Linked DNA regions of Homo sapiens: regions 1, 2, 3, 4, 6 and 7 are each linked to region 5. Evidence: promoter capture Hi-C in 16 types of primary human blood cells and fetal thymus (Javierre and others, 2016). All regions are on one chromosome and are shown on one strand. Each heading gives the region's core, a stretch centred on a gene start or on the middle of the fragment in contact. The rest is flanking DNA. Distances are from core to core; before and after follow the strand shown.

Region 1 (3,762 bases), core at 942-3,441, 3.7 Mb after region 5:
TTCAAGCAATTCTCCTGCCTTAGCTTCACGAGTAGCTGGGATTATAGGCATGTGCCACCATGCCCGGCTAATTTTTGTATTTTTAGTAGAGACGGGGTTTCTCCATGTTGGTAAGGCTGGTCTCGAACTCCCGACCTCAGGTGATCCAGCCGCCTCAGCCTCCCAAAGTGCTGGGATTACAGGAGTGAGCCACTGCACGGGGCCGAGTGCCTACTCTTTATGTGTCCCATTTTAAACTTACACCAACACTCTGAAGCTGAGGCTCTTAGAGGCCAGCCTTCTTGCCTGGGTCACGCAGCCACTAAGTGAGTGGTTAATCTGAAACTAGCACCTAGGGGAGCTGGCGAAGGGGCCCAGGGTAGCAGAGGCCATGAAGAACTCTTTCCAAGTTGTTGTTTTTTTTTGTTTTTTTTTTTTGGGGGGGGGGGACAATGTCACTCTGTCAGTCAGGCTGGAGTACAGCGGCTCAATCTCAGCTGACTCCAGCCTCCTCCTTCCAAGTTCAAGCGATTCTCGTGCCTCAGCCTCCTGAGTAGCTGGGACTACAGGCGCGCGCCACCACGCCCGTCTAGTTTTTGTATTTTTAGTAGAGACAGGGTTTTGCCATGTTGCCCAGGCTGGTCTCGAAGTCCTGGCCTCAAGTGATCTGCCTGTCTCGGCCTCCCAAAGTACTAGGATTACAGGCTTGAGCCACTGCACCCGGCCCAGATTGGTTCTTTAAAGCGGAGTTGAGAGGTGGCGCTGGAGGGGAGGAAGCCCTTCGACATTTGCTCCCAGCCTCAAAACTGGGTTGCACCGGCATCTGTTCCTAGCCCTGTGGGGTTCCTGGAGCCCCGCCTTGTCCCGCCCGGCCTCCCTGAGTTCTTGTCCTCCCCCTGCCCACCAGTCTCAGTGTGCGGGGTGGGGACCACCAGGCTGGGAAGCCCAGAGTTCCCAGGCAACTCGTGCGCCTGGGAGGGTCATAGAATCCGTCCTACACTCCTCAGGATCTTGAAGGGGGCTCTTCCTTACATTCCCAGTCACCCCTCCCCCAGCCCCTACACAGGGCCTAGGTAACCTGTCTGCACCCCACTCCCACTCTGTATCAGCTGCCCTCTTCCTCAGCACCCTATCCCACTGGAGCACCTTTTCCAACTCCAGTCGCCACTTTTAATCTGCCGCCTTTTCCCAGCAGCCAGTCCTGATTGCCTCCTCCGTAGCCCCAGTTGCCCACTGCTTTAGATAGTGTCGCAGCTGGCTGTGAGGAGTGTCCTGATTCTGTAACCCGGCACCTCCTCCACAGGGCCCTAGACGCCTCAAGCCTTCCAGGACGTTTGTTGATCAAAGGCGAAGGATGTGTAGAATCTTCGTCCATCTACGAATTAATTCTCGAAACCTGCTTCGAGTGGGCCTCGCGCGTAACACAGGGGACACTCAGTGGTGAACGAGACCACTCGCTTAGGCCTAGCAGCGAGGTGACCGTTCACTCAACACACACTAACTGGGTCCCGCAGGACACGCCCCGGCTGGTCGCGGGGGTTACCCGGGGTGCCCTCAGTCGGCCGGCCGGCCATAACCGGCGTGATCTCCTCGCGCCGAGAGACCCAGCAGGGACCTCGCAAAACCCAATCCACGTTTTGTTTTATTTTGTCTTTTTGCCTCTCAAATGCATGGAAATTGGCTGCTAGTAGCTTTGCTACAGGAGAAAATCGCTAATCTGTAGTGCAAAATCGGCGCACAGGGGTTTTCTCTGAGATTGTCTAGACGCCGCGCGGGCGGGTCGGAGGCGCCAGACACATTGTATCCGGAGCGCGGAGCTCGGGAGCAACAGTCGCCGCCTCTACTCTGTATCTGCGCCGCCCCAGGCGCCCAGTGTCCGCGCTGGGCCTGGGACTGCCCTCGGGGGATGGGGCCCACGCGGGCTTTGATGGGGGGCCGGGGGCCACTTTGTCCACCCAGGCGAGGCTTGGGTCCAGCGCCGGCCACATCAACTCCCGGGGGATCTAGCAGCGCGGAGGCCAAGCAGGAGGCCCAGGAGCCCCGCGCGTCTTCCATTAGCGCAGGGACCTCCGGGCCACAGCTCAGAGAATCGGAAGGCCTCCTCCCCCTTCCCGAGCGCTGCCACTGGGGCCGAGGTTTCCAGCAAGAACCCGCGTGTCCCTGCGCACGCACACACGGTGCACACGTCAGTCCGGCGCCTCCCCGTGCCCCGACTCACGCAGGTCCTCCCGCGCGCCCGCAACACGCCCGCAGGCTCCTGTGTCTGCTGCCGGGGCAGCGGGGCCCGGAAGGGTAAGAACGCGGCTCGCTAGCGGGATGGGGACCCTGGCCCGGCCTGGACGCTGTCCCGGGCGGGGCCTGGGGGCGGAGCGCGCCGGGCCGGGCGCGCAGGAGGGGAGGCGGGTCCGCGCCGCCGCCGTCCGCGCCGCCCCGCCCTTGGCCCAGCCGCTCGCTCGGCTCCGCTCCCTGGCTCGGCTCCCTGCCTCCGCGTCGCAGCCCCCGCCGTAGCCGCCTCCGAGCCCGCCGCCACATCCTCTGAGGTAGGCGCAGCGGAAAAGGACCCCGGCTTCCTTGCGCCCTGGACGGCGGGGGCCAGGCCCCTGGGGAGCTGAGAGGGAGGCGCTGAGGGAGGAGCGGGCGAGGGGCCCCGGCAGCCCGGCCGCGGGGAGGGATCGCGAGCGGCCGGCGCGGGCCTGGCTGGTGAGCGGGCGGGCAGAGAAGGCCGCACAGGCGGGTGCCGAACAGGTCTGGGCTGGGGAGCGCGAGGCCGAGGGTCCAGAGACGCCTGCGGCTGGCGGCGAGAGGCGGCCCGGGCTTGCGGGCGGAAGTGCAAGGGCGGCCGCGTGGAGGCCCGGCGGGCCGCGCGTCTAGGTGACCTTCCCCGGCGGCGCCCTCTGGCCCTGGATCCCACCAGCGTGCATCCGGCGGGGACCCGTTCGCCGCCCACGCTCGCCGGACCAGGCCAGCGGGCGGGTGCCGGCCACGCTGCCGCCTCGGGGATGAGCTCACGTGACGACCGTGGCCCCGAGTCCCCAGGCCCACGCGCCCTGGCCGGCCCACGCCCGCAGAAGCTGGCGCCCGGCACCGCCCGCCTGTGCCAGAGCCTTCTAGAGCGGAACGCGCCGGCCGAGAGTCGACTTAGGCGGTAGAGGCCGGAGCTCGGGCCTGGGCTGAAGGTTTGGCCTCGGAAAAGGAGGCCCCACGGGGAAGGATGTGGCCTTCTTGGTCTTAGGAGTGATTACTGGTTCGGTCGTTCATTCATTCGCCAAATGCGGCGGTGCATTCTGGAAACTGTTTCGGAGCCTGACTTTGGATTAGAGGCCCGCAGTCTTAGTGGTTTGTACAAGGTCACACAGCTGGGAAGTCCCCATACCTTCGTTTTCTCATCTATAGGACGGGAGCAATTGTACCTCTCCTTCGATGAGTTTTGGGGAATAATAAAATGAATTAATTAGCATGAAACCTTTAGAACAGTGCCGGTGTGGAGAAGGGCTAAGTAGAAACCCTGACACCCTTGGGGCTTTTTGGGTGAATCCAGCCCATCCCCCGCAGACCATTTTGCTACACGTGGCGTTGTGGAAGGGGTTCAATAAATGTAGCTCCTGTTTTTAAACATTCTTTCACTATTATTGACAAGCATTTGTATACCAGGTATTGAGTAACTTTCAGCTTAATTTATGAAAAATCTTGTAAGTTTACAAATGGACATTGTCAAGCTGGAGCAGTAAGTTTGCATGTGGAGATCTTGAATGCAGGAGCAGACCCTGGTTTAGAGCCCGTTCC
Region 2 (3,905 bases), core at 194-2,693, 3.9 Mb before region 5:
CACAAGCAGGAAGAGCATATATAGCCCATGTTGGGGCGGTTCCAGGTCAGGCTGTGGTTCCGACATGAGGCCCTGGGGGGCGAGCGCGGGCCAGGGCGCCTCCTGGGTTTAGGGGGCTGCAGCTGGGAATGGGGGAGGGGTAGGAATGCCGTCCTCAGGATCTGAAACAAGCACGTCTAAGACGTCCGGCTGAGGTCCGGCCCCACCCCCTACCCAACCAGGGAGCTGTCCGGGCCAGGAGTGCTGTTTCGCCTTTCGGCAAGAGGTCAGCGGCAACGCAAGCTCTCTACCACGACCCTGGTCCCGCTTCCCCGACGCCCCGAGCGTTCCCCTTTCCAGCTTGTTCGCGCTTCTGTCCCTCCCAAGGACACTGCAGCACGAGATGGGACGGCATTCTTAGGCGGCGGGAGCAGAAATCCTGCCTGAGTCAGCGCCCGCACCTCCTCCACGCCGGCCTGAGCCAGGCCTCTGCAGCCCCTTCCTCTCAGTACTCCCGCACCCCTCTCCCTTTTTGGTTTCTCCCACCCTGACCACCTGGCCGACCCGGTACCGGTGATTTGGTTCTGGTTCCGGCTTCTGCTGGGGTTCCGGCTCCAGGGGCGTCCTAGTGCGGCTCAGGGCCCCCGACGCCCTTCCGGCGCTCATCCCTTGATTCCTCCCCTCCCCCTTCGCCGCCTCACCGGCCCCGGGCTGTGGCTGCGGATACCCGCGCCGTGGCAGGCGGGGGGAGGGAAGAACAGAGAAGGATGCGGGCTGGCTGAGAGCGGTGGCAGGCTCCGGGCAACTCCGGCCCTGGGTCAGGGAGATCGCCTCCGCAGCCGCCCTGGCTTCCCAAATGCCTTCACCCGTCGCGGGCCCAGGACCAGGGGGCGGAGCGCAGGTGTGCGGGGCGGAGAGCGTGAGCTCTGCGCGCGCGTGACTGCGCCGGGCCCCCCCGGGGCAATGTGCGGCGCCGAGTCTGGGTCCGGGTAGGGGACAGGCGGTCCGGCGTGGGTGTTGTCCACTGGTCTATCCGGTACGCCTGGCGCAGCTCCTGCCCTCAGATGCCCCGACCGAGCGGAGAGTCAGGAATCTTCTCCGAGGGCTGGGGGAAGCCGGCTTTCCGCACCTTTGAGGGACGGAGTGGCGGGATCTTCGGAGCTTCCTAGAGAAGTGACCACGGCCTGCGCCCGGTTTGGGGCAAGCGGCTGGATGGGATGGCTCGGCTTCCCGAGGATCTGACCCCCGGCCGGAGACAAATGGCCCTCGCATCCTAGGAGCTATGCTGCCAGTTCCCTGCCCAACCCGGGACGCTCAAAGCCCCAGATACCGGGAGAGCTGAGCCGGGCGAGGGGCGGAGCTCCCCTGGGGGCGTGGCCTGGGTGTGGATGGAGGCGGGGCCGCAACGCCCAGTTCCGCAGAGGCCGGCTACGTGCTTGCGCAGCACGCACGGCCGGGGAGGGGCTGGCGGCGGCCGCGGGCGGCGGGCGGCGGAGGTGCGGGGCCTGCTCCCGCCGGCACCATGGCCAAGACCGTGGCCTATTTCTACGACCCCGACGTGGGCAACTTCCACTACGGTGAGGAAACAGGGATATGCATGAGGGGTTGGGACACGGAGGTTTTGAGGCGGGGTTGCAACTCCAGGGGTGAGAGCTGACGAACTCTCTTCTCCCCACCCCCAGGAGCTGGACACCCTATGAAGCCCCATCGCCTGGCATTGACCCATAGCCTGGTCCTGCATTACGGTCTCTATAAGAAGATGATCGTGAGTTCCGCCGCCTCGGCCGGGGGTTGGGGGGTGGGGCGAGCTGTGGCCGTAGGGATAGGTGGGCTGGACTGAGTGCATGAAGTGCGACCCGCCCCTAGAGTATCGGGGAGCTGGATAGAAGTCACCAGGAGTACCTTGAAAGTGCAGGGTGTTGGGGGTGGCGTCCTCTGCTTAATGGAAAGTACTTTCTCACCTCAGGTCGGCCACCCTCTGACTGTAGGCACACTAGCCCTTGGCCTAGGGTTAGCGTGATGTGGGGCTGGTTTGAAGACAGAAGGTGTGTTCCTCCTCTGCATTTTAGAGTGTGGATAGGGCCTTGGCCTCAGGAATTAGGGTTAGGGGAGCGGATATCACTGTATCAGGGTGTGAGGTTTACCCTCAGTTCCCACTCCTCTTTTACCACCTTTCTTTACCTCCAAGGAGCTAGGGCTCCAGGGTGGAACGATGCTGCCGTCTTTGTAAATGTGTATGTGCGTGTGGAACAGAGGCGATATTTTAGATATTCCTTTTTCAGCCTGGAATACCTCTACATGGTTCTGCTTAATCGCTATCCAGTTTTTCATCTACCAGACATACACATGCTGTCTTCCCAGCTTGGAATTTATGGCTGTGATATGGGATAGTAACAGTTAAGCCACGCCAGGCGTGGTGGCCCATGCCTGTAATCCCAGCACTTTGGGAGGTTGAAATGGGGGGGATCGCTTGAGGCCAGGAGTTGGAGACCAGCTTGGGCCACAGTGGGACCCACATCTACAAAAAATAAAAATAAAAAAAGTAGCCATGTGCGGTGGGTGTGCCTGTAGTCCCAACTACTTGGGAGGCCGAGGCGAGAGGATGGCTTGGGCCCAGGAGTTTAAAGTTACAGTGATCTATGATCAGCAGCCTGAGTTGACAGGGAGGACCTTGTCTCAAAAGAAAAAATAAGACAAAACAGCTAAACCCAGGCTTTATGTGTTGCTAGGGAAACTAGTGAACAATATGAATGAATGTTCATTGCTTGTGCCAAGGCACAGACAAATGGACTGGTCATAGAAAAGACTGAGGTGATGTTAGTGCAGGAATCTATATCCCTTGAGATTGTTTGCCTGTATGTACCTGTGTGCATTTTCTGGGAGAAGAAAAGCTCTTTCTTGTGCAGTTTTCAAAGAGGTGTGACACATCCCCCTGACCTTCCAAAGATAATAAATCTTTGATTTTAATTAGAAAGTTGACATATATCCCATATATTTGACTCCAGAAAGAAGAATCCAGAGGAAAGAGGACAGAATCAGAGCTTGGGGGAGGAGATGAGCATGGAGAGAACTGGGAATAGGAGATTCCAAGGAACAGGGCAGGTGGATCAGGGCTCAAAGTTGAGAAGGTACGATAGGCTGAGCTGGAGGTGGAAAGGAAAAGAAGTGGTCTTCAGGGGGCTCATTTGTAATAACTTACCTGGTTAATCGGAGTCTCTCTACTGACTTAAGGATTGTGGGATGAGGGGAATGCTATGTTTGGCTTCATATAGTCTCCAGGACTGGGTTCAGTATGGGTGGTCTGAGCCTGTGGAGTGGGGCTGACCCTGCCTGGGTTCATCTTGTGTCTCCATCCCGAGGTCTTCAAGCCATACCAGGCCTCCCAACATGACATGTGCCGCTTCCACTCCGAGGACTACATTGACTTCCTGCAGAGAGTCAGCCCCACCAATATGCAAGGCTTCACCAAGAGTCTTAATGCCTTCAACGTAGGCGATGACTGGTGAGGGAGGACTGGGAGTTTTGATGTCTAACAGTTTAATGCCAAGCCCTTCAGTGAGGTCTTTTGGCAGCAGTGGGAAGATCTCAAGGGGGGCCTACTTGTCAATGCATCATAATTCATTTTATTTGTTTATTCAATAAATATTTATTGGTCACTTGTTCTAGGCAGGCCCTGTGCTAAGTGCTGGGAATGCAGTGATGAACAAAAACAAAATTTTAATATCGTATTTTTGCTAAGTCTTATAAAGAGGAGGTGTATGACAGATTATGAGAGTGTATACGTGGAGGATTGTTTAGCTTGGTGGAGTGGCTGGTCGGTGGGGCCTTCCTAGAGGAAGTAAAGATTGAGCTGAGATCTGAAAAAAGAGTAGAAGTAATCAGATGAAAGATGGTTGGAGGGTGAGGGGAGAAGTATAGCAGGCAGT
Region 3 (3,944 bases), core at 990-3,489, 3.6 Mb before region 5:
GAGCCACTGCACCCAGCAGATTATCTTAATGTCTACTGATAAATCCAATTTAAAAAAATATTTAGGGTCAATATAATTTCCTCCCCTAAAACAGCATATAGAAAATGTGTTAAACTCAAAAGCAGAAAATGTATTTCAGGACTGAAGGAGCTAGATACATTAAGAAAACCTCAGTTAATCCTTTTAACTATGTCTGGCAATATTCCATGTAAAGAAAGGTTTAGAAACTAAAATACACAGTAATTTTGGAAAATGAAAAATTGCATACAATTTATCTCAAGTTACCTTCTATGATAAGAATATTTGAGCATCATAAAACTCATAGGGAAGATGCTGAGTAATATTTGGATTATTTTCATGTATAATGACCTCACATTGTATATGGTTAAACAAAACACAGCCAGGCGAGGTGGCTCAAGCCTGTAACAGAAAAAACTTCATCTTTGAAAAAGAGGAAATAGATCATTCTGGAAATTACAAGTAAGTCAGCTAACATTCTTCAACACATTATAAGCAAAGAGAAATAATTTACCGTTATCTGGAAGGGCATACTTTCTCTTTTAAAATTAACATTAAAAACCAAACTAACGTCAGGTCATTTTAATTTCCTCCCACAACAGTATCTCATTCTAGCTAAACCACATTCACACACACTATTAGTAAACCTCCCCACCTCATAACAATTAGAATTGTCCTTGACTAGAAAGGAAATGTATGTAAAGTGGCTCTATCTCATTTTAAAATGACAAAGAATGTATTTTCTCTCAGAAATCACTACAGGATTTGAGACTATGATCTTTCTAGACAGATAAGTTTTTTCATTCAATTAGCAAATATTTTTTGTGTATCTCCCACATTCTGGTACTAGGCACTGGGACACAATGACCAGGATAGAAGAAGATCACTATCATGGAGCTTTCAATCATACAAGAATAAAGTGAATTTTGGAAATGTTAATTACATCTTAAGAGAATTCTCTTAAATTTAGGGGCAATTGTTAATATTTTAGAGGATAGAAATGAAATATTAATGGCCTTGATGCTCTCCCAGATATTTTAAAAATAAATGGAAATAAATAGAAATAAGTACCAACTGTTACCCAGTTATGTTAAAATACTAAAAATATGTGTTGATGAATACCTGACTATTGATAGAAAAGACAAGCAGAAAACAGCAAAATAGTAGAGGTGGAGTTAAAAAAAATGTCAAAGTAATTTAAAATTACTTGTACATGAGAGACAGGAAACAATACTTCAATTATATCTACTTTAACCAGATGCTCAGTCTATCAGACAATTCTGTCCAAAAGAACACTTCCTTCTCTGTTTACATTTACATCTAAATCAAGCACATAAAAAGGAATCACCCTTGTTTCCCCAGAAGTATTATAGAACACAAGTAAAACCAGAGGCACAATTCCCCTACAGGGAATTATATTTAAAAATACAGACTTTGGGCCATGCGCGCTGGCTCACACCTATAATCCTAGTACTTTGGGAGGCCAAGACAGGCAGATCACCTCAGGTCAGGAGTTCGAGACCAGCCTGGCCAACATGGTGAAACCCCTTCTCTACTAAAAATACAAAACTTAGGTGGGGTAGTGGAACGTGCCTGTAATCCCAACTACTTAAGAGGCTGAAGCAGGAGAATCGCTTGAACCCCAGAGGTGGAGGTTGCAGTCAGCCAATATTGTGCCACTGCACTCTAGCCTGGGTGACAGCCTGAGACTCCATCTCCAAAACAAACAAACAAACATATATATAGAGAGAGACTTATATAGTAAGCTGCATGTCCTCCTCACTCCATTGATTTGGGTACTTTGAAATCCATTGTATAGTAGCTACACATTCTTGTATTGGCACCAGATAGGCTAGACTCTAGGGAACATCCGAGATGTTTCCAGAAGCAAAGACGCTTACTGCAAGGCGTCCCCCATCTCCCGGAATCACCCGGAAGTCTAGAAGCCATCCGGCCCCACAGCGATCCCGTAAAAGTGCTGGCTTAGCGGGGGACGAATCTGTGTCTTTCTTGGAACTTCCAAGCTCTAAATAGTTTGAAACCAACAGCTCTTCCGAAACACTGTCATTTCCATCCCGGAAAAACAAGTTCTCGCGAAAAGATGAGTTTCACGCTGGGCAGCGTAATTGCGCTATTGCGCCTGCGCTAGCTGGGGCTCCGCCCTTCCGCCCGGAGGGGCTGTCACTCACAGCCGCCTCCCGCCCCGCGTCGCGACGTAGCACTTCCGTTTTTGCTGGGTAGGCGACCCGGACGGAGGGCCGGCGAGGTGCGGGGTCTGGTGATGCGAGCTGCGCCTCTCGGCAAGATTTCGCGCTGCCCATCCCGGGCCCTTTCATCAGTAATCGGTAGTGGATCACTCTGCCAAGCGGCAGGAAGAATTAAGGAAACGACAAGGAGACGCTCGGCTCTCTCCCGCTTGGCTCCTTGCGGCCTCCTCTTCCCTTCGCTCCGGCCCGGTGAAACTGAACTTATAATCGTCACTGGATTGTAAGTACCCGAGGCGAAGAGAGCTCGCTGAGCCCTGATTTTTTGAGTGTCTTTGTTCCGGGAGAGTTTGTGAGTTGAAAGTATCTCTGCTGGGCTTTCTGGGCCGAAAACCGTTCCGGGGGAGCCGCCATTTGCTTTCCTGTTCCCTAGCTAGCTAGCTAGCTCTCTCCGCGTTGTCCGGCAGCGGCACCTAGAGGTTGGGACTTGGCATTGCATCTGATTTAATGAACTTAAGTCTGTGAATAAGCCTTTGTGTTAACGACTGGTATTCGGTCACAGCATATTTAGAGAAAAGACTTGGAGCTTAAATAAAAACTAAGGCAAAATAGACGCTTAGCTGCTGATCTACAGAGAACTTCTTGTAATTAAAAGATTTCAATTCATAGCAAACTGGTGTTTTAAACTATTGCAGTAGCTGGAACTTTTTAGTGTAACCAGCATTTATTGGAGAAGTGAATCACAAGGAAATAAAGATGAGTAAAAGCAAAGATGATGCTCCTCACGAACTGGAGAGCCAGTTTATCTTACGTCTGCCTCCAGAATATGCCTCTACTGTGAGAAGGGCAGTACAGTCTGGTCATGTCAACCTCAAGGACAGACTGACAATTGAGTTACATCCTGATGGGCGTCATGGAATCGTCAGAGTGGACCGTGTTCCATTGGCCTCAAAATTAGTAGACCTGCCCTGTGTTATGGAAAGCTTGAAAACCATTGATAAAAAAACTTTTTACAAGACAGCTGATATCTGTCAGATGCTTGTATCCACAGTTGATGGTGATCTCTATCCTCCTGTGGAGGAGCCAGTTGCTAGCACTGATCCTAAAGCAAGCAAGAAAAAGGATAAGGACAAAGAGAAAAAGTTTATCTGGAACCACGGAATTACTCTGCCTCTAAAGAATGTCAGGAAGAGAAGGTTCCGGAAGACAGCAAAGAAGAAATATATTGAATCTCCAGATGTTGAAAAAGAAGTGAAACGATTGCTGAGTACAGATGCTGAAGCTGTTAGTACTCGGTGGGAAATAATTGCCGAAGATGAAACAAAGGAGGCAGAAAATCAAGGCCTGGATATCTCTTCTCCAGGAATGTCTGGTCACAGGCAGGGCCATGACTCATTAGAACATGATGAGCTTCGGGAGATATTCAATGACCTCAGCAGCAGCAGTGAGGATGAAGATGAGACCCAGCATCAAGATGAAGAAGATATAAACATCATTGACACGGAGGAAGATCTGGAGAGACAGCTACAGGACAAGCTAAATGAATCAGATGAACAGCACCAGGAAAATGAAGGAACCAATCAGCTGGTTATGGGAATTCAGAAGCAGATTGACAACATGAAAGGCAAGCTCCAAGAGACCCAGGACAGGGCAAAACGACAAGAGGATCTCATCATGAAAGTGGAAAATCTGGCTCTCAAGAACAGATTTCAGGCTGTACTG
Region 4 (3,733 bases), core at 707-3,206, 3.8 Mb before region 5:
CAGTGATTAGTGTCCTGATTTCTTCAACAAATAAATTTCAGGGGAAAAAATGAGATGGAGAGGAACATATAGATTAAGAGGGAATTTTAAATTTTATCAACCAGTACAGTATATGGAACTTATTTAGATCTTGATCCAAATGAACTATACAAAACACTTGACAGTTGAGACAGCTGGAAATTAGTGTGATAATGGTTTCATGGCATTTTTTAAAAAGTCATCATCTTTTAGAGATGTGTACAGAAATAATTGCGGATCATTATGGGATTTAGAAGTGGGGTGTAGATGAAACAGAATTGGTCACGAGTGGATAACTGTTGAAACTGAGTGATGTATGCATGGGGATTAATAATTGTGTTTTTGAATGTTTAATTTTTCCCATAATAAAACATTTTTTAATCCAGGAAAAGAGTTTTATTTCTAGTACCTTATTTTAATGCCTTTTCTTCTGCCCTCTAGCCTATTGTTTCCTTGCATAAACCTGTCCTCTTTGCTGACATACCTGAGTCCTTGTTTGGGATAGTGCCTGTCCTTCCAGTCCTTCCCCACCCACATCCTAGAAGCAGACCTCTTTTTAGCACTCCCTAATTGAGTCACCATCCTGGGTGTGCTGGGAAAGTATCTGTGGGAAACTCAATGACTATATTATCTGAAAGACCAAATGCTTGGTGAAGTGCCCAGATTTTTAATACTGCTTTTCTGCTACCCTTCCAGACTTATATCTGTCCCCTTCTTTATAACTCTCAGCATCTGGTTCTTCCTTTGGGATTCTGTGTGGCTTTGTTCTTGTCCTTTAGGTTTGTTCATTAATGCCAGTTTGCCCTGTCCCTCCTTACAGCTTGCACATCTGTAATGGTCTAGTTCTGTGGGATTTTGCAGATAGTTGTATATTTTGGCCAAGGTATCAGTGATACGGTTACCTTTGGGCAGGGATAACTGCTATTCGGTTGGCATGATATTTTTTCCTTCTATAATGTATACCTTAGTGATTGTTTTAAAGTGCTGAATTTATCCCTTATGTATATTACAACCATGAAGAATATAAATCAGAAGTCCTCCATTTGGGCAGCTTCTTATATTAACACTTATATTAACATTAAGACCCTCTTACTGTCTCCTCTTCCCAGAATTAGAGAGTTGATGTAGTGCTTAATAGACATGGCTTATTGTATGCTAGGTGAACTTGGCAATTCCATAGCTATGTTACCCTCACAGAAAGTTATTTCCTGGAGAGATTATTAAGTGTTCTGATCTTTCATATATGCCTGAGAGATCTAAGATTCTTCCACAAAGACCCTATTTCTTCAGAGAAAACTATAGTGATGCCAGAGTCTTTTTTTTTTTTTTTTTAACAACTTGTGATTTTTGTGCACCTGTGTTGTATGTGTTGCCATTATCTCACTTTAGGGACGTTGGATAAACTGGCGTATTTGTGCAGCCTCATTTAAGTAGTGGCAACCATTAATGACTTGTACCCACAAGTTTTTCCAGATAATTTCTGTTTTTTCCACCTTTCTTACATGTTCTTTTTTAGTCATAGGTACTTGGCTTACTCAAGGGAGGTGTAGCGTAAGATAAAGATAATGGAGGGTGTTCCCTGTAGAATAGGTACAAATGCTGCAGGCTTTATCTTGGGCAGAGCAAGTAGGGTTTTGGTCCTGAGTAAGTGAGTGAGGTTAGGTGGAGCTGCCTGTCTTCCAGCCGTGCGGATACAACTGACTCAGTCCGTGTTCTCAACAGTTTTTGAAAAGCCCATTTTTCTATCCCACTTACTCCCACCTGCAGTTCTTTAAGAACGTAGTTTCCAGGATGTCAGGCAACTCCCCACTCCTCCATTTCCTGTTTGTGGTCTTCATTGAGAGACGCCTTAAACAGGAATTCCTGGGGAAGTGCAGGCTATAGCGGTGGGATTCCGGGGGTCATTAGTCCATTATTGAAGCTGGGGAATCATGTACTATAAAAGGACCTCCCTTCCGTTCTGTTGTCTCCTAGAAACTATTACTGATCATAACCAAGCAGTAACTGCAACTCAGGGCTGTTGACTTGTGCCCTTTGTCTTTAGAGACTGAAAATTATTTTCCCTTCTTGTGCCTCAGTTTCTATTAGTTGAATTTTAGAGCTCAACATCAAGATTTGTGACAAAATTAACTTGGACTCTGTAGGACTGATTCGTTTGAAATGCAAAAGTAGTGAAGAACATAAAACAGACTCCCTATCTTGGCCGCCAGGGGGTGCCCTTTCCCTTCGCTTTACTGTCTGGCACTCCCCACCGCATTCAGCCATTTTAGACAGATTGTTTTTGCTCCCAGCTAACTCCATTTTGTATTTGTGACGCAGGAATAAAAAAAGGAGTTAGGCAAAGGAGGAGTCTGGTTTGCAGAGGGAGGGAGACTGGCTGAGGCGCAGCTACGTACTCTTTTACTCAGCAGTTGCTCATCAGGGACACACCTTGCTGCAGGCTGCCTGCATCCTGAGCAATCGATGCCGCAAGTCCTTGCCAGCGGAGCACAGAGCAAAATGGTTTGGCTGCCGGACACCTACTAACAGTGACAGAGTGCTAGCTTTTGAGGCAGCAGGCCAGGGCATCCCCTCTGCCTCATCTAGACTCTAATCCTGGGTTTAGGTGTTTTTGCTACAGAGATGTTTAGGGCAGTTTTCTTAATTATAGGATCAGATAAGAAAAGATACCCCCAAAAAAAGAAGAAAAAAAGGAACCCCTTTCACTTAGCTGTCTGGGAAGAATCAAATGCCCCAAGGACTCTAGGGAAATGGTCCTGAATTTTTTTAAAAAATGTTATTTTTGAAACCGTGAAAAAAATGCACGCACACATACACACATATATGTAAAGAGACTAGTATGAACACCCCTATGTCCATCACCCATTTAAAAAACTTAATCAACAGCTAGTCTTGTTTCATATACCTGTATCAACTTTGTCTTTGCCACCCATTATTTTTACATGTATCCTTGTTCATATTATTTAATCCTTAAGCAGTTCAGAATGTGTGTCAAAAAAATTAGGACTTTTAAAAGAAGATAATTACTACCATTATCACATTTAAAAAATTCTTTATCATCAGATAGCCAGTTAGTATTAAATTTCCCAAATTATCTTATGATAGTTGTTTTTTTTAATAGTTCATTTGAATCAGAGCCAAATAAAGTCTACACATTGCAGTTGGTTGATGTCTCTATAGGTTCTCTCTTATGCTCTTTTTTATTTTTTATTTTGCAATTTATTTATAGACTTAATTTCTTTTAAAAAGATCTCTGCCAGGCGCGGTGACTCACGCCTGTAATCCCAGCACTTTGGGAGGCCGAGGCGGGCGGATCACGTGAGGTTGGGAGTTTGAGACCAGCCTGGCCAATATGGCGAAACCTCGTCTCTACTAAAAATACAAAAATTAGCCGGGCCGCCTGGTGGCGCATGCCTGTAATTCCAGCTACTCGGGAGGCTGAGGCAGGAGAATTGCTTGAACCCGGGAGGCGGAGGTTGTGGTGAGCCAAGATTGCACCACTGCACTCAAGCCTGGGTGACAGAGTGAGACTCCATTTCAAAAAATAAATAAATAAATAAATAAAAAGAAGATCTCTCAGGTTGGGACTGAGAAGATACAAAGCCAGACTTCCCTTCTTGCCAGAGCAGAGCCTCTTCTTTAGGATTTCCCACAGAGGCTATTGGTGACCAAGTGAAGGAGCAATGCCCTGCCACCTTCAGAGGGAGAAAGGGCT
Region 5 (3,433 bases), core at 472-2,971:
TAAAAGCAGTAACTTAGGGGTATATGATCTCTCTCTCTGTAAAACATTCGTCTAACCCAACATCTTTAAAAAGCTAACATTCTACTTTTGGGAGGCCGAGGCGGGCAGATCACTAGGTCACGAGTTTGAGACCATCCTGACCAACATGGTGAAATCCCGTCTCCACTAAAAATACAAACATTAGCCAGGTGTGGTGGTGCCCGCCTGTAGTCCCAGCTACTTGGGAGGCTGAGGCAGGAGAATCGCTTGAACCCGGGAGGTGGAGGTTGCAGTGAACCAAGATCGTGCCATTGCATTCCAGCTTAGGCAAGACTCCGTCTCAAAAAAAAAAAAAAAAAAGCAAAGTTAACATTCTAGGCCAGGCGCGGTGGCTCACGCCTGTAACCCAGCACTTTGGGAGGCCGAGGCAGATGGATCACCTAAGGTCAGGAGTTTGAGACCAGTCTGACCAACATGGTGAAACCCCATCTCTGCTAAAATACAAAAATTAGCCGGGTGTGGTGGTGGGCGCCTGTAATCTCAGCTACTCAGGAGGCTGAGGCAGGAGAACAGCTTGAACCCAGGAGGCGGAGGTTGCTGAGCCGAGATTGCGCCAGTGCACTACAGCCTGGGCAACAAGAGTGAAACTCCATCTCAACAACAACAAAAAAGCTAACATTCTAGTTCAAAGAAAGCAACACATAGATGATGTAAATTACACATAAAAAACCATTCACTGAGGTTAAATGAAAATGTCTGCTGGAGTGTGCCAAGGGGACCTGAAAGGGCCTCCTCTGAGAGGGCATCGTGGGAGGGCTTCAAGGAGGGCGGGAGGGTGGCAGGGAGGCAGGGATGTCGCGCCTCGTCTGGTTCCTAATGTCTGAAGTTCTTTTGGTTCCCTGTTGTCTTTCACACCGCCGCCTCGGGCTCGCTTTTGCGCAGGGCCACGTGGCAAAGTTTTAGTTTAACCGCACGTCGGGCCCACTGTAAACGGTTAATAACCGCCTTCGTGGACCAGGCCTCTGCCCTCCATCTTTGTGCGGGCGGGAGGTGGGGCGGGGACGCCAGGTGTAGCGGACAAGCGGAGAGGCGGCGGGTAGATCCGGGCCCCCAACCCCAACAGTCAAGTTTTCAAAAAGCCCGCGCGTGGCGCCCCAGACCGCATCCGTTGGGAATGGCCCCCAGCGCGCCCCCTGCTCTCTCCCCGGCAAAGCCCTGGGCGGGAGAAGGCGCGGGGGTGGTAGGCCGGCTCTGCACGCCGGGGGCGCCGGGGCAAGCGCGCACCGGGGAGCGCGCCCGTCCAACAGCTGCCGAAAACGGAAGTGGGTGCGAGGGGATCACGGTGATTGGCTGAACTCAGATGTCTCTCAAGGGGCTGGCGCGAACGCCACTGCGGAGTTGGGCGAGGGGATGAGTAAAGGGGAGGGGGAGAAACACTGGGAACAGCCGCGGTGCTAGGAGGAAATGAATCGCGGTGGTGCGCGGAGGGCAGGGAGGGACCCATGTCAAGGGACAGTGGGGCGCTCGGGAATGAAAGTGGGCTGGCAGAAGCGGAAGCGGGAGCGGCACAGGCCGCGGGCTTGAATAGACCGCGGAGGGCGGGGAGTCCGTGATCTAGAGCGGCGCTGCGGCGCGGTAGGCGGGATTAAGGGGAGCGAGGCGGGGATTGGCTGGTAGCCCTAGGCTGCCGTACGTCGGCGGTGACGCACGCCTCGGGGAGGGTGCGCGCGCGTTCAGCGGCCTCTTTGTGTGGTGCCCAGATAGGGGAGCGGAGGTGGCGGCGGCGGCGGTAGCGGTGGCCTTGGTTGTCTTCCAGTCTCCTCGGCTCGCCCTTTAGCCGGCACCGCTCCCCTTCCCTCCCCCTTCCTCTCTTCCTTCCTTCCCTCCCCTTCCCTTTTTCCCTTCCCCGTCGGTGAGCGGCGGGGGTGGCTCCAGCAACGGCTGGGCCCAAGCTGTGTAGAGGCCTTAACCAACGATAACGGCGGCGACGGCGAAACCTCGGAGCTCGCAGGGCGGGGGCAAGGCCCGGGCCTTGGAGATGGAGAATTCTCAGTTGTGTAAGCTGTTCATCGGCGGCCTCAATGTGCAGACGAGTGAGTCGGGCCTGCGCGGCCACTTTGAGGCCTTTGGGACTCTGACGGACTGCGTGGTGGTGGTGAATCCCCAGACCAAGCGCTCCCGTTGCTTTGGCTTCGTGACCTACTCCAATGTGGAGGAGGCGGACGCCGCCATGGCCGCCTCGCCCCATGCCGTGGACGGCAACACTGTGGAGCTGAAGCGGGCGGTGTCCCGGGAGGATTCGGCGCGGCCCGGTGCCCACGCCAAGGTTAAGAAGCTCTTTGTCGGAGGCCTTAAAGGAGACGTGGCTGAGGGCGACCTGATCGAGCACTTCTCGCAGTTTGGCACCGTGGAAAAGGCCGAGATTATTGCCGACAAGCAGTCCGGCAAGAAGCGTGGATTCGGCTTCGTGTATTTCCAGAATCACGACGCGGCAGACAAGGCCGCGGTGGTCAAGTTCCATCCGATTCAGGGCCATCGCGTGGAGGTGAAGAAAGCAGTCCCCAAGGAGGATATCTACTCCGGTGGGGGTGGAGGCGGCTCCCGATCCTCCCGGGGCGGCCGAGGCGGCCGGGGGCGCGGCGGTGGTCGAGACCAGAACGGCCTTTCCAAGGGCGGCGGCGGCGGTTACAACAGCTACGGTGGTTACGGCGGCGGCGGAGGCGGCGGCTACAATGCCTACGGAGGCGGCGGCGGCGGTTCGTCCTACGGTGGGAGCGACTACGGTAACGGCTTCGGCGGCTTCGGCAGCTACAGCCAGCATCAGTCCTCCTATGGGCCCATGAAGAGCGGCGGCGGCGGCGGCGGTGGAGGCAGTAGCTGGGGCGGTCGCAGTAATAGTGGACCTTACAGAGGCGGCTATGGCGGTGGGGGTGGCTATGGAGGCAGCTCCTTCTAAAAGAAAATTTAAAATGCCTGGGAGTGGCTATAGGGGTAGCTCTTTCCAACAGCCCAAGTGGGGTCAACTCCTAAGCCCCACCCCCTCACACACACCGCCTTCCCTGTTTTGCCCTTGGGGGAGCCACTTCTAAGGCTGCTTACCCTTGGGGGTGTTCCTCTATTTGCCTGCCACCTCTCTTGTCTCTCCCTCTGAAGATGGACTCGGCCCCACATACACATTTTTGTGTTACAGTCATTGATGGACTCTATTTTTTTATTATTACTTGGACCTTGGTCGTTTTTATACTAGCAAAATGTCTTGTTTTAATTTGTGTTTTTTGGGGGGAGGGAGGGAGTGAACTTGCTGATTCTGTAGCAAAACCTGGGTGGGGGTTGGGGTGGGGGGTAGTTTACTTTGTTGTAAGGACTTGATAACCTGGCTACAGCGTTTTCTATGAAATCTACTTGGATCCCATGCCTGAAATTTGGAAGCATATGTACAAAAATCATTTTTACG
Region 6 (3,851 bases), core at 1,172-3,671, 4.3 Mb before region 5:
AGTATGGTTAGAGAGTGGGCTGTAAGGAGGGTTAGGAGGAAATAAGGGGTAAGTAATAACAGCTGGCTGTGAATGCCATGCTATGCTAATATTTCATTTAATAGTCACAACAGCCACACGAGGGCAGTATTACTTAATTTCCACTCAATTCTTATGTTTCAGGTAAGAAAACTGAGACCTGGAGAAGTTGAGTCATTTGCTTGAATTACTCACTAAATAACCAGAAATTAGCCAGACCAGAATTGAAATGCAGGTCTTTCCGATTAGTCCCCACGCTGATCCAAGAGCCTCCAGGCTTCGCAGAGACCCTGCACTGGTTCCCTGCAGAAGGGGTAACTCAGGGGAAATGGGCTTAGTCACCAGAAGTCAGTCACTCTCCTCCTGGAAAGGTCTGGATGCAGATGCTGCAGACCTGGCCCATGTTATCAGACGTGATCGGAGATTGGAGTTGGAGCTTCATTGTGAAACATCTGCAGTCCTCAAGCTGAGACAACATTTCTGGCTGGGGGCGGTGGCTCATGCCTGTAATCCCAGCACTTTAGGAGGCCAAGGCGGGCAGATCACCTGAGGTCAGGAGTTCACGACTAGCCTGGCCAGCATGGTGAAACCCCATCTCTATTAAAAGTACAAAAATTAGCTGGGCATGGTGGTGGGCATCTGTAATCCCAGCTACCCGGGAGGCTGAGGCAGGAGAACTGCTTGAACCCGGGAGGCGGAGGTTGCAGTGAGCAGAGATCACACCACTGTACTCCAGCCTGGGCAACAGAGCGAGACTCCATCTCAAAAAAAAAAAAAAAAAGATTTCTGACTGAATTTAAAAATAAACAAAAACTACACCAACACCGAGCCATTCACAGCCTCTCAGGATTTGGAAAACAAAACAAAACAAAACAAAATAACACTGAGGCAAAGAGCAAGTCCCCCACACTGTAAAGGTATCAGCTCCACCATCTGGTCTCATCAGGGCCTCACCAGATGAAGCCTACCCCTAGCAAGCTGGTCTGGAGCTGCAGTTGGGCCCAAGGGCTGGGTGAGCGCCTGGGGCTGTCCACAGTGAGCAGATTCAGCAGAATTGCAGAACGTGGCCACCCGGCTGACTGAGGAAGGCCCTGTCCCGTGGGCATAAAGCCAGGATTCCTTTGGCCTTTTGCTGCTGGAGGAAAACTAGGCTGATTCAGAAGGTCTCACCACTGCTCCCTAGCACTGACTAAAGTCCGGGATGTCAGACTATGAGGTCATATATCACAAGTCTCTGTACGCCTTTGATCCCCAGTTTCCACATCAATAAAATGGCGGTAATCATATCTGACGATTGGGCGGGATTCTATGAAATAATGCGCACAAAGCTCTGGCAAAACCCTATGTAATGGAAGATGTTACTGATGACCAGCACTCAAGTCCTTCCTCCAGCCTCCGCATGGAAAGTTCCCAAGTGTCCCTAGAAGTCTGGAACACTCTAATGTTGACTGGAAAGAATAAGATGGATCTCTTTTTCTGATATGGAAGCGTCCCAAATCCAGTCATACCAGCTGGGAGGCAGTGCCCGCTAGCGGTAAAAAGCATGGATTTTGGATTTGGACAGATCCCCCTGAATTGAAGGCACAAGGGAAACCACTTGTGCCTCTGGCCAAGTTAATTTTTCTCTCCAAGCGTCAGTTTCTCCACCTGTTAAAAAGTAACGGCAAACCTACCTCACTGGAGCTTAATAAGGATTAAGTGAAATAATGCAGGTCAAATATCCGAGCCTTGATATATATAAGCCTCATGTGTATGTGTTCCCATTTATGTAAAATAACAGTGTAAGCATATTCAAAGAAAGCAATTCAGAATGTACTCTTAAACTAAGCAATGGTTATCTTGGTGTGGGGAGTTGGGGAAACCAGGGGCCTGCCTTTTTCTCTATTATATAATGCTGCAAAGTTTGATCTTTAAAAAAGGACATTAAAAAGCCCAATTGTACTTTAAACAACACAAGTTTTAATACTTGGGTAAATAAATGGCATCTAAACAAAGAAAGAAACTGAAGGCAGAGCCAGGCCCAACCCTAGGAGACTGAGGAAGCGATTCTGCTTTGCCTGCCCCCAGCTCAACCCCTGCACTAAAACCCCCCGGCCCCAGCCCCAAGGTCCAGGGGGTTGTATTCCTGGGGGCGACCCGGCGCCCCTCAAGTCTCCCTCCTCTTGCACACACACACACACAAACCAGACTCGAATCCCCGCCTCCCAAGGGAAAGTGTTTTTTAAGGTCTGTTCCAGGGCCTGCCGGGGCCAGGGACCGAGGTGGGACTGAGTGGCCGGAACTCCTCCACCTGGGAGAGTCGGTCCGGGTAGCTGCGGCCAAGCTGAGTCAGCCCGGCGGGCGGCGCACGCGGCGCCGCGTGACCCGCAGCCACGTGACCCGCGCGGGGCCGGGCCGCCGGCGCAGTCGCTGCAGCCGCCGCGGGAGGCGTCCGTGTAAGTGGGTAGCAGGGCTGGCGGGGACCTTCCTCGCGGGCCGGAGCGCGGAGCGCTGCCCCAGCCCTACGGCACTCGGGGTCGGGACCCCGGGGAGCCGCCCTCACACATTTTCCAGGAGGGATCGGAGGGGCGATGGGGTGGTAATGGGGGTGGGGGACACGCTGTACCCCACCGACGACCGCGCGGGCCACCTTCGCCTCTTTCCTTCACACTCCCACTAACCGCAGTGCTGGGGGAACAAAATGTCCTCCTTCTGGAGCGATTACCTTTTCCCTTTTGTGCTTTGGGGGAAACTGAAGACCCAGAGGGGTTCGCAAAGCAAGGTGGGCCAGTAGGAAGACCCCTCCGCTAGTCCAGAGAGAGCACACAGCTCCCCAGGCAGAGCTCATTGCCCCACCTGCTCTAGTGGCCCAGCATGATCCCATGACCTCTCTACTTCTGGAGGAAGAGTCTTGGGGTAGACGGCGGGGAGGGGGTAGGGTATCCCGTTCCGGTAGGGGCAGGGATGAGGGAGGCGGGGCTGAGCCGAGCATCTATCTGGATGGTAACAGCCAACGTAGAAAATACTAAGTTGTTTACATGCATTCTCTCATTTCATATTACCCGTCGTGAAGTCTGTGAAGTAGGTACTATTGTCCCAATTTTTACATAGGAGGAAACGGCTCAGAGAGAACTTAGGTCCTTTGACCGAGGTCCTGCAGGTGGTAAGTGAAGGAGCTGAGATTAGAACCCAGATCTGCCCCCAGTGGCGCCTCCTCGTGGTCTGTGGGTGGTGGAGACGACTGGCCTAGCCTCTTAGCTCCTCTGTGAATAGAAAGGCCTTTTTCCTGGCTCAGACAGCTTGGGAAGGGGATTGTTGCTGGGTAAGAGAAGCTTCTCCCACCACCTCCATCTCTTTCTCTGCCCCTTACCATTGATTCCTTTCTGTCATCCCCTCTCCCCCACTGCAGGACAAGATGAAGCTCATCATCCTGGAGCACTATTCTCAGGCGAGCGAGTGGGCGGCTAAATACATCAGGAACCGCATCATCCAGTTTAACCCAGGGCCAGAGAAGTACTTCACCCTGGGGCTCCCCACTGGTGCGTTCTTGGATGGAGAGGGTGCCGTGGATAAGGGTGGAGAGAGTAGGCAACAGGGGCCAGGTACACCGGCTCACTCAGCCAAGGGACTTCACGGGGGCTCTGGGGTACTGGTGCTGAGAGAGCACCTTCCTGCCCCTTCCACATACAAAGGACCCAGCTTCCCTTATGGGTTGGTTTAGTCGCTGCCTGTCCCTGCAGAATCCTGGAGCAGAAGGGATCTTGGTTGGCAGGAAGAATTTGATTTTTAGGCTACATCCTAAGTCAGCCCTGTCCACCAGGGTTTCTTAACAGAATTAAGTCCTGATACCCTAA
Region 7 (3,846 bases), core at 179-2,678, 3.9 Mb before region 5:
GATACAGACTGATACAAGAAAGAGGACTGATAGATGGGTCACTTCCTCCCCTCCATTCTCTGATTCTGTCTGTTCTCAACACTAGCTTAGAAAGTAGCTTTTGGACTTTTTAGACAAAATGTCTGGAAAGCTCAGCACTAAGTCAAGTTTGAAGTATGGGATGGACAGCTCTATGTAACATTCTATCCGATCACCATCAGAAGGTCTGGACCACAAGAGAGATGAATGCCAAATTTAGGAGCCAGCCAGCTTGGCAGAGTCCCTGGTATATCTCAGGCCCTTGACTAGGTACTGGGGCTCTAGAGTAAGTAAGTCACTGACTCTGCCCTTCAGGAACTTATGCTTGAAATCTTGCTAGCTGTGGTCAAGAATATTCAGTCCATATTGTGAAGGCCGACTGGTAGCCACGTAACTGTCACACAAGGGACAGATGTAGCTGGGAGAATGGATGAAATTGCTTAGGGAGAAAGTCATGCTAGAAGAGCAAAGAATATACTCTTGGAGAATACTCATTCTTTTCACTCATGTTTGGTTTATGTCAGTGGGGAATCCTGGTTAAACATAGGGTTTGGCAGCAAATCAGACTAAGCTGGGTTTAAATTTTATATCAATTATGCGTTCTTGGGCAAGTCACTTCAACTCTCAAAAGTCCAAATTTACTATTTATAAAATGGTGAGGCTAGCAGAATCTATCACATGGGACTGTGGGGACTTAGAAAAATACATGTAGAGTGTTTGCCTAGTGCCTAGCAGAGAGCAAAGGGCATGGTTAAGTGGTAACTGTTATTGCTGTTTAGGCACATGTTGGCAATAATTAGTTTGTCCTGATTAGAAACAATTAGATGGTACCTAACCTGGAATTCGAACTAGGAAATTAAACTCCAGAGCGAGTCTGGTTTAGTCTAGTGCTTGCCCTGGACCGAGCTCTGTTCTTGCTACCTTGCTTTCAAAACATGGTGGCTATCACTATAATTTTTTTCATGTGTTCCATGGGTATTGCACACATTGAAAACTGCATTCTCTTGGAAAACCTGTCACTAATTTTCTGCCAGGATAATGGTCTCACGCGATTTTTGGTCTGGGATGTGAGAGGGTCCAGGCTGTCAGGCTGTACAGCCACGTGGGCGCTGCGTGGGAGCCAGAGGCCTGCGCTGCTCCAACCGCCAGGGGGCGGTGCTCTCCGCCGCGGCCGCGGAGAGCTGCACCGCCCACTCACCACCCCCCCCCACGTGGGTCCGAATGGTTAGGTCCGCTGGGCAGGTAGCGCGCTTCCGCGGCTTCCCTCCGCCCCTCTCCCTTCCCCCATTGGTAGGGGCTGCGGGTCCGGGCGGAAGTGGGGCAGGCGGGCGGGAGCGAGGCGTCGTCGTTGTATATTCATGAGGCGCGCGCAGCCCGGCATGCTAATGAGGCGGGGCGCGGCGGCTGGCTAAAGAGCGACTGGGCGGCGGCGGGCGCGGAGCTGCCAGGCGGGAGCGGCGTAGGCGCGGGGTCGCCGGCCAGCGTGAACCGGGACATGGAGCCGCCCGGCGGGAGCCTGGGGCCCGGCCGCGGGACCCGGGACAAGAAGAAGGGCCGGAGCCCAGATGAGCTGCCCTCGGCGGGCGGCGACGGCGGCAAATCTAAGAAATTTGTGAGTGTCCCTCCCATCCCGCTCCTGCCTGGCCCCGTAACCGCCCTCTGGACCCCTGCAGCCGGCCCCTGGGGCGCCTGCCCGGCTTTGGGGAGCCGCCCCCGCGCCTTCCTTCCTCGTTTCGCTCGGTCCGCAGCTCTGCAGCCCGACATCCTCTCCCTTCGGGACCTCGGGAAGCCCCGGAATCCCACCCGGCTCTTGCCCCGGCCACCTCGGGGCTTCCCTCGTTCCCCAGCCCTTACATTCTGCCCTCCCGCCCGCATATCCCCGGCCGGCTCTCAGCCCCGTCTCTCCCCTCTCAGCCTCACTTCCTTTCTTCTTCCTCCAGTACCCGAACACGCCTCCTCTTTTTTGGTCCCCTCTTCTGGGTCCATTTTCTCTTCTTAACCTTACACCTTTTTTGGTATTCTCGTATTTCCTTCTCCTAAAGGTCACTTCCTTCTCCATGATTCATCCTTTTTACCTGCTAACTTTCCTCCCGCCCAGTCCCCCGTGGGCCCTCCGCCCGGTGTCACTTGATAATCCTTCCCCTGAGGAATGTTACCTGACTTGAGCCCTACCCCCAACTCCTTCTTTGGACGTTTGTCCTTGCGATTACAGGAATGGGCTCCTGCCCAGGTCCTATGGTCACTGGGGCATGACGTTTATTTGTTTACCAGTATTCCTCTCTCCAGAGAACCTCTCTCTTTGCCCTGTTGCTTATCACTTTTCAGAGGATTAGAACTCTCATGATTGTGCCCTTCTTGACCTAGGATGGTGATAAACCTCTCCTGTGGGAAGAAAGTTGGACTGCGAGTTCAAGAAGTTTGTAATTGAATTGTTTTTTATACATTTCCCATGATAACCGTCTCCTCTACTCCTTTTCTACTGCCTCTTGTGCCCCAAGGCGACTATCGGCTTCCCTTTGCGTGCCTGTAGAAGAGTAAGCTTTCCTCAAGTGCCAGTTACTTTCAATCCGAGTGAAGGAATAGTGATATACATGTAACCCTATCATATTTCATTACCTTTTGCCCACACCAACGCCTCTCTCCAGGGAGCCGTTTGGTTGCTTTTTTGCTATAAAAGCTTTGTAAGATACGGGGCACTGTCCAGGAGAGGAAAAGTCTTGGATATTGATGATCATTATAATAGCTAGTTATAACTGTAGCTCTTTTGTCTTCTCTTCCAGGTATTTATGCCCTTACACTAGTGTATCTTTCTACTAAACAAATGGCTTGTAACTCTTAGTCCCACCTCCCAACATTTTGACCCAGCTCCACAAATTTGGGAAGAAAACTGATAAAGCGATGGAAACAGGAAGAAAATGTTGTTTTATGACCTAGAGGGTTGAGATGTTAACCCTGGAGGGTTAGATGTTTAATTCTAAATAGAATTAAAATAGTGACTCATCTCTTCCTATTTCTAGCAAGACCAAGTGCTCCTGGACTGCCCTTTCCAGTGATATCTGAGATGTCAGTAACCATCTGTTTTTATCTGGTGAACATCTTTTTTTCCCCCCCTAGAAATATAAGGTTAAGGGTATTGACACCCCCTCCTTCTTTGGTGACTAAAGCAGCATTTTTGTATGTTTCTTTAGGATAAGAATTGACCCCTCCCCCCCGTTAGCTTTCCTTCCAAAACTTAAGTTCTAGGGCTCATATTCCTTCTATTTCTGTATCTTTTTGTTTTGATTTTATTTCCATGAGTACTGTTTGACCTTCCTCACCCAAATTCCAGCTATTGCTGCTGACTTGTGGTGACCTCAGTGACTTGTTTTCATGTCTTGAGTAGAATTTTATATGTACTCTATTTTATCTAACAATTATTTCACGAACTTGTGAAGTCTACTATGTGTGTGGTACTGTAAGGTGAGAAACCTGAGGAAGCTCAACCCCTTTTCACCTGTCTTTTGGAATGTCCATGAAGTCTTCTATATGTTTAATGGATTTGGCTCAGGGTTGTAGGTATTTGCTTTAGAGAGGATGGAGCTGAACCAAGTTCTCTTTTCTTTCTGCGGTGTTAGTCTTAACCCTTAATCTGCTGAATTTTTAAAACTAAATAGCTCAGGTAATGAGGAAAATTGCATTAGTAGCTACGGAATTGGAAGGTTTCTAGGAAAGTAGTGCTGCTTAACCCTTTTATTGCCAAATGTAACCTATCTCAAGGCATCAGAATATTCTTTCTTCCTCTTGCTCCTTTTATGAGAACTCTGTGGAAATGAGAGATGAGGAGGAGCA

Evidence for each region. Contacts are between HindIII fragments. The CHiCAGO score rates a contact against its expected background, and 5 or more counts as called.
Region 1: the fragment with the promoter of VDAC1 here is called in contact with the fragment with the promoter of HNRNPA0 in region 5 in 1 of 17 cell types (total B cells); the score reaches 7.5 in total B cells.
Region 2: a contact is called between the fragment with the promoter of HDAC3 here and the fragment with the promoter of HNRNPA0 in region 5, in 2 of 17 cell types (non-activated CD4 T cells and fetal thymus). The highest score is 7.8, in non-activated CD4 T cells.
Region 3: the fragment with the promoter of TAF7 here is called in contact with the fragment with the promoter of HNRNPA0 in region 5 in 2 of 17 cell types (naive CD8 T cells and naive CD4 T cells); the score reaches 7.1 in naive CD8 T cells.
Region 4: a contact is called between the fragment with the promoter of DIAPH1-AS1 here and the fragment with the promoter of HNRNPA0 in region 5, in 4 of 17 cell types (activated CD4 T cells, neutrophils, naive CD8 T cells and 1 more). The highest score is 11.1, in activated CD4 T cells.
Region 6: the fragment with the promoter of GNPDA1 here is called in contact with the fragment with the promoter of HNRNPA0 in region 5 in 2 of 17 cell types (neutrophils and activated CD4 T cells); the score reaches 6.6 in neutrophils.
Region 7: a contact is called between the fragment with the promoter of DIAPH1 here and the fragment with the promoter of HNRNPA0 in region 5, in 6 of 17 cell types (fetal thymus, total B cells, naive B cells and 3 more). The highest score is 10.1, in fetal thymus.

Annotation. Positions count from the first base shown.
Region 1 is chr5:134,003,404-134,007,165 of GRCh38, reverse strand. VDAC1 (voltage dependent anion channel 1) reads left to right here and starts at 2,191. Exons shown (of 9, transcript NM_003374.3): 1 at 2,191-2,271. RefSeq lists enhancers at 1,348-1,417, 1,458-1,517, 1,588-1,707, 3,358-3,407, 3,418-3,467 and silencers at 1,878-1,927, 1,968-2,027, 2,088-3,127. The HindIII fragment of the contact is 5,979 bases long and covers 1-3,762 here.
Region 2 is chr5:141,634,387-141,638,291 of GRCh38, reverse strand. HDAC3 (histone deacetylase 3) reads left to right here and starts at 1,443. Exons shown (of 15, transcript NM_003883.4): 1 at 1,443-1,556; 2 at 1,662-1,744; 3 at 3,339-3,481. The coding sequence starts at 1,502. RELL2 (RELT like 2) reads right to left here and starts at 1,295. Exons shown (of 7, transcript NM_173828.5): 1 at 1-1,295. The coding sequence starts at 66. RefSeq lists enhancers at 1-6, 707-756 and silencers at 1,267-1,556, 1,617-1,666, 1,676-1,970. The HindIII fragment of the contact is 11,354 bases long and covers 1-3,905 here.
Region 3 is chr5:141,319,079-141,323,022 of GRCh38, reverse strand. TAF7 (TATA-box binding protein associated factor 7) reads left to right here and starts at 2,239. Exons shown (of 1, transcript NM_005642.3): 1 at 2,239-3,944. The coding sequence starts at 2,979. RefSeq lists enhancers at 1,711-1,860, 1,871-1,930, 2,511-2,710. The HindIII fragment of the contact is 5,333 bases long and covers 1-3,207 here.
Region 4 is chr5:141,556,534-141,560,266 of GRCh38, reverse strand. DIAPH1-AS1 (DIAPH1 antisense RNA 1) reads right to left here and starts at 1,956. Exons shown (of 3, transcript NR_038333.1): 1 at 1,780-1,956. All of the region lies in intron 18 of DIAPH1 (diaphanous related formin 1), which reads left to right. RefSeq lists enhancers at 2,071-2,365, 2,126-2,978. The HindIII fragment of the contact is 6,603 bases long and covers 1-3,733 here.
Region 5 is chr5:137,752,651-137,756,083 of GRCh38, reverse strand. HNRNPA0 (heterogeneous nuclear ribonucleoprotein A0) reads left to right here and starts at 1,721. Exons shown (of 1, transcript NM_006805.4): 1 at 1,721-3,433. The coding sequence starts at 2,018. The coding sequence ends at 2,935. RefSeq lists a silencer at 1,002-1,361 and enhancers at 989-1,680, 1,942-2,291, 2,802-2,961, 2,371-3,062. The HindIII fragment of the contact is 5,253 bases long and covers 1-3,433 here.
Region 6 is chr5:142,011,597-142,015,447 of GRCh38, reverse strand. GNPDA1 (glucosamine-6-phosphate deaminase 1) reads left to right here and starts at 2,421. Exons shown (of 7, transcript NM_005471.5): 1 at 2,421-2,453; 2 at 3,407-3,536. The coding sequence starts at 3,413. RefSeq lists a cis regulatory region at 882-1,154 and silencers at 2,296-2,565, 3,237-3,296. The HindIII fragment of the contact is 4,254 bases long and covers 1-3,331 here.
Region 7 is chr5:141,616,582-141,620,427 of GRCh38, reverse strand. It overlaps DIAPH1 (diaphanous related formin 1), which reads left to right and starts at 1,428. Exons shown (of 28, transcript NM_005219.5): 1 at 1,428-1,630. The coding sequence starts at 1,514. RefSeq lists silencers at 1,074-1,733, 1,794-1,843, 1,654-1,850. The HindIII fragment of the contact is 3,913 bases long and covers 1-2,559 here.